Linked DNA regions of Homo sapiens: region 1 is linked to region 2. Evidence: promoter capture Hi-C in human tissues and cell types (Jung and others, 2019). All regions are on one chromosome and are shown on one strand. Each heading gives the region's core, a stretch centred on a gene start or on the middle of the fragment in contact. The rest is flanking DNA. Distances are from core to core; before and after follow the strand shown.

What was found. The method cuts DNA at HindIII sites, captures the fragments that hold promoters and counts their contacts. A contact is called where the count stands out against the background at its distance.
Region 1: a contact is called between a fragment that was not itself captured here and the fragment with the promoter of KCNG4 in region 2, in 5 of the 25 tissues and cell types used here (IMR-90 fibroblasts, aorta, bladder and 2 more).

What each region holds. Positions count from the first base shown.
Region 1 is chr16:84,099,363-84,102,172 of GRCh38, reverse strand. It overlaps MBTPS1 (membrane bound transcription factor peptidase, site 1), which reads left to right. Exons shown (of 23, transcript NM_003791.4): 2 at 66-552. The coding sequence starts at 390. Among named protein-coding and RNA genes, the nearest start is that of MBTPS1, 16 kb to the left of the region's middle. The HindIII fragment of the contact is 3,194 bases long and covers 1-2,810 here.
Region 2 is chr16:84,238,378-84,241,335 of GRCh38, reverse strand. It overlaps KCNG4 (potassium voltage-gated channel modifier subfamily G member 4), which reads left to right and starts at 1,324. Exons shown (of 3, transcript NM_172347.3): 1 at 1,324-1,666. The HindIII fragment of the contact is 8,358 bases long and covers 1-2,958 here.

The sequences.
Region 1 (2,810 bases), core at 277-2,776, 140 kb after region 2:
CTAAATCATACCTGGCTATGTCAGTTTGCTACTAATGTCTGTGTGCACTGTTTTTTGTTTCATAGATTGGCTCACAGTGGTTGATTGATCAACCCCATTGGACGTTGGTTCTGTGGTACAAATGGAGTACAGGACTCAGTCGTCACGGCCTGAGTGAGAGAAGCCTTATTTCCAAGATGGAGAAGAAGCGGAGAAAGAAATGAAAGCCTCTCTTCAGGCTGAACCACAAAAGGCCATGGGATTTAACTTTTATTTATGTTGGGCAAGACTGTAAGATGGCTGATTAGTAATGTTGCAGCTTTTAGCTGAAACAAAAATTCACTTTTAATCAAGAAGAAAAAAGTGTGATTTGAATATATGCAATTTTATGATCATATTCGCTTGTGACCATGAAGCTTGTCAACATCTGGCTGCTTCTGCTCGTGGTTTTGCTCTGTGGGAAGAAACATCTGGGCGACAGACTGGAAAAGAAATCTTTTGAAAAGGCCCCATGCCCTGGCTGTTCCCACCTGACTTTGAAGGTGGAATTCTCATCAACAGTTGTGGAATATGGTAATGATGTTGTCTTAAGTATTAGGAACTCCCATCCTATTTTTTTAAAGCTTACTTAATATAAAATTAGCTATTGCTGAATAACATGTTCCTCTTTTCTACAGTAAATTTCTTTCTTTTTTTTTTTTTTGAGACAGAGTCTCACTCTGTCACCCAGGCTGGAGTGCAGTGGCATGATCTCGGCTCACTGTAACCTCCACCTCCTGGATTCAAGCAATTCTCATGCCTCAGCCTCCCAAGTAGCTGGGATTATAGGTGACTGCCACCGTCCCTGGCTAATTTTTTGTTTTGATTTGTTCTGTTTTGTTTTGTTTTGTTTTTGAGATGGAGTCTCACTCTGTTGCTGAGGCTGGAGTGCAATGGCACGATCTCGGTTCACTGCAACTTCCACCTCCCAGGTTCAAGCAGTTCTCCTGCCTCAGCCTCCTGAGCAGCTGGGACTACAGGCACCCGCCACAACTCCCAGTTAATTTTTTCTATTTTTAGTAGAGATGGGGTTTCACCACATTGGCCAGGCTGGTCTCGAGCTCCTGACCTCGTGATCCGCCTGCCTTGGCCTCCCAGAGTGTTGGGACTACAGGCATGAACTATCGTGCCAGGCCTTTTTTTTTTTTTTTTTTTGTATTTTTAGTAGAGACGGGGTTTCAGCATGTTAGCCAGGCTGGTCTTGAACTCCTGACCTCAAGTGATCACCCTCCTTGGCCTCCCAAAGTGCTGGGATTACAGGCATGAGCCACCGTGCCTGGCCTTCTGTAGTAAATTTCCAATGGGTTGAGTGCACAGCACATGAATGTTAACTTTGCTTAAGTTTGTTTTCCCAGTAGAGTAAGCTTATATGATAAAAGGAAATTGACATGAATTATTTACCTACACCTTCTTTTCTTTTTCTTTTGGAGACAGAGTTTTGCTCTTGTCGCCCAGGCTGGAGTGCAGTGGTGCCATCTCAGCTCATTGCAGCCTTGGCCTCCCAGGCACAAGTGGTCTCCCACTTCAGCCTCCTGAGTAGCTGGGACTACAGGCACCTGCCACCGTGCCCAGCTAATTTTTTTATTTTTGTTTTTTCTTTTTTCTTTTTTGAGATGGAGATTCACTCTTGTTGCCCAGGCTGGAGTGCAATGGCACCATCTCAGCTCACCGCAACCTCCACCTCCCAGGTTCAAGCGATTCTCCTGCCTCAGCCTCCCGAGTAGCTGGGATTACAGGCATGTGCCACCATGCCCGGCTAATTTTGTCTTTTTAGTAGAGACTGCGTTTCTCCATGTTGGTCAGGCTGGTCTTGCACTCTTGACCTCAGGTGATCCTCCTGCATTGGCCTCCCAAAGTGTTGGGATTACAGGCATGAGCCACTGTGCCCGGCCTGCCCAGCTAATTTTTTTATTTTTTGTTTCACCATGTTGCCCAGGCTGGTCTTAAACTCCTGAGCTCAAGCAATCCATCCACTTCGACCTCCCAGAATGCTGGGATTATAGGCATGAGCCACTGTGCCCAGCCTACACCTTGATTCTTTGGAACAGGTGCCATTGTAATTGGTGAAGGTGGGGAGCTGGGAGGTGCAGAATGTTTATGTTCTAAAGTTTGAGTGACCAGATGTGAAGAACTGAGCAAATAGTCTCACATAATCCACTCTGGAATTTTGTTACTGTTTTCGTTTTAAGAAACACTAACTGAGCATTCAGTTCTCTGAATTTCTTTTTCCTACTTGATAAAAATTATATACATTTCTTTGTTGTGTATTCAAACTTCTGTAGGTATTTGCTTTTTAAAAAAATATCACGGGTATCTGGTTTCGAATGATGTATTCTTTGTGGTTAGGTGATTCATAGAGATCTTTTTTTTTTTTTTTTTGAGACGGAGGCTTGCTCTGTCACCAGGCAGGAGTGCAGTGGTGCAATCTCTGCTTACTGCAATCTCCGCCTCCCAGGTTCAAGTGATTCTCCTGCCTTAGCCTCCCAGGATTATAGGCGCCCACCACCACACCCAGCTAATTTTTTGTATTTTTAGTAGAGATGGGGTTTCACTATGTTGGCCAGGCTGGTCTCAAACTCCTCACCTCGTAATCTGCCCACGTCAGCCTCCCAAAGTGCTGGGATTACAGGCGTGAGCCACCGCGCCCAGCCCCATATAGATCATTTTTCCTCAAAGCTCTGCAGACAGCTGTCTAGGTACTTAAACTAGTCTTTGTGTTTTCTCTCGTCTGCTGTGGGCTTTAAGATAATTTTTCTTTTGCCAGATTTTAGATTAGATACAATATAGTATAT
Region 2 (2,958 bases), core at 75-2,574:
GCAGCTGTGGAAGGCTCACCCTCTAATCTCCCTCACTCCTGGATCCTCCCATCAAAACTCAAGCGTCTGTTAAGTGATGGTTCTTTTTTTTTTTTTTTTTTTTTGAGACAGAGTCTCACTTTGTCACCCAGGCTGGAGTGTAGTGGCGCGACCTCAGCTCACTGCAACCTCCGCCTCCCGGATTCAAGCAATTCTCCTGCCTCAGCCTCCCGAGTAGCTGGGATTACAGGCACCCGCCACCATGCCCAGCTAATTTTTGTATTTTTAGTAGAGACAGGGTTTCAGTACGTTGGCCAGGCTGGTCTCAAACTCCTGACCTTGTGATCTGCCCGCCTCCGCCTCCAAAGTTCTGGGATGACAGCTGTGAGCCACCACACCCGGCCTAAGTGATGGTTCTAACCAGCAAGATGACCTTGAGCAAGCCTCTTCTCAGGGCCTCAACTATCAAATGCAGTGAAGATAACACATTCAGAAGCCAAGAGCCTGGGCTGCAAAACCTCTTAAGAAAGTGAAGAACAGTCAACGTGTAGTGAGCAACTACAAGATGCTGGTTTTACAATTGCAGCCATCGCTGGTTTCACTGTCCTCATTTGACTGAGAAACCCAAGGCCCAGAGAGGGGAAGTGACTGACCAAGAACACACAGCCAGGCAGTGCAGAGTCCAAGTTCACACCCAGGCCCTGGACTGATGCCTCTTCCTTTTCACCCACCCAACCATCCAACCAGCACAGGAGCTTGCACTTATGGTTCTGACCTTCCCTGAACCCTCTCTCATTCCCATGTTTTAGAGACAAGACAATTGAGGCTCAGAAGCACTAACTCACCTGGCCAAGGTCACCCAGCCTTTCACATAGGAGCCAGGATCCAGGCATGTGTGTGAATTCCAAGCTCGGAGCTCTTCCTATTGCTGTTCTGTAACACAGCCCCCCTGACTCCCACCCAGCGCTCAGAGCCTGGGCTTCTGTCTGAACCTGTCCCAGGCCTGGGCTGCTTAAAAGCAGCAAAAAGTTCCTCCTGCAGCTTCAACTTGAGCCTGTCACCATCATCAGCATACCCCGAGAGACTCTGGGGTGCCTGGGACAGGTAGCTGCAGATGCCTCCGGCCCCAAGTTGCCCTCTGCTCCTCCCGAGTTGTGCTCCTCCATGCCAGAGGAGGGAGGACAGCTCCCCTTGCCTCCTAGGCGGTTGGCAGAGTGGCAGCGGCTGCTGCTTCTTCCTGCTGCTGGCTGATGGAGAGATTATTTCTAAGCCCTTCCCATTCCACACCCCCCCACACTGGCTGTCCCCGTGGGACTTGAAGTGCAGAGTCCGCTGCTCAACCAGGACAGCTGCCCTGGCTCCCTCCCAGCAAGAACCCCCAGACCCTCATCTCTCATAAGGAAAGGGACTTCTGGGTCCTTTAAAAAAAAAAAAAAATCCCACCTCAATCCCCCAGGGCTCTCCTGCAGCTGCTGGAGAGAGAGATGCAGAATGAATGAACTTCTGGTTTCTGGAGGAGGCACGGGAAGAAAGATTGGAAACTGACTCTGCTAGAAACTGCTGTTTTGGGGATTTTTTTCTTCCCCTTCATCTCCACCAGAAACCTGTCCCTTCCCTGGGCACCAAGAGATGGGCTCCCCTTGCCTGGCAGAGAAACAGCTGGAAACTGGCTCCCTGAGACAAGAAGGTGAGTTAAACTGGAGGGGAAGAGTTACTGCTTGCTGTAGGGTGGGCGGGGGCCAGGGGGAAGTTGACGCTGTTAGACATCCTTGGCAAAAGTGCTGGTTTGAGTGAATTCCTTTCCCGTGCTCCAGAAGGAGCTGTTTGCCAGCTGTTTGGAGAGCCGTAGATGGCAAAATTGGGTTTATTCAGTGAATGCAGAAAGGGCAGTTTTCAGGTTCTGGAAGGAGCCCCAGGCTGGGGGACAGAGTGCTGGGTTGGATTCGGATTTGCTGTGTGACCTTGGACAAGTTACTTCCGCTCGCTGGGTCTTGGTTTTTGCACTGGGAAAATGAGGAAGCTTGCAAAGGGCTCCCCAGATTTCAAAATACTCTTCTCTCTGCAGGCTCCTCATCCTCCTCTGGCCATTCCCTGTGAGCAAAGTAATGCATTCAGAGCAACAGAATGTTGTGTAGGGAGCAAGAGTGTGAAATAGGTTACGATTCACTCTCCACTATCCACCGGAATCCAACCGGCTCTGAAATTGAGAGGAACTTTGATTTCCGTTCCACTGCCGAGTTTTTCTCTTGATTGGAGTGGAGTGCATCTGAAAATGTAAGCTTATAGATGCTTTGGAAATGGCTTTGGCTAGAATGAATAGCATAAGAAATGGTTGCAGGATCTGAAGGTGAGAAATATTATGAAAAGGACTTTTTAAATATGTGAAGTGGCTAAATCTAAAACACTCACACTAAGTCAAGCACCTCATATAGGTCTGAAATGGAGACAGCATTAGAGGCCCCGTCATTTTTTTTTGTTTTTTTCTTTTTGAGATGGAGTCTCGCTCTGTTGTCCAGGCTGGAGTGCAATGGCGCAATCTCGGCTTACTGCAGCCTCCGCCTCCCGGGTTCAAGCGATTCTCCTGCCTCAGCCTCCCGAGTAGCTGGGACTACAGGTACATGCCACCTTGCCTAGCTAATTTTTGTATTTTTAGTAGATACAGGGTTTCATTGGCCAGGCTGGTCTCGAACTCCTGACCTCAGATGATCTGCCTGCCTCTGCCTCGCAAAGTGCTGGGATTACAGGCATGAACCACTGCGGCTGGAGGCCCCTTCATTCTGCACATAAAAGCCTGCGGGCCCAGAGAGGGGGAGTAACTGGCTGGAGGTCACACAGCAAGGATGGCTGAGGCAAGCACGCAACGAACATGGAGGAGTACTGTGATTGCAAGTACGCAATGCTCCTCCGTCCCCTTAGCAAAGGCCTCCCCAAATGGGGAAGCGACCAAGAGGGATTAAGCGAGACTGGTGGAGTTCCTCC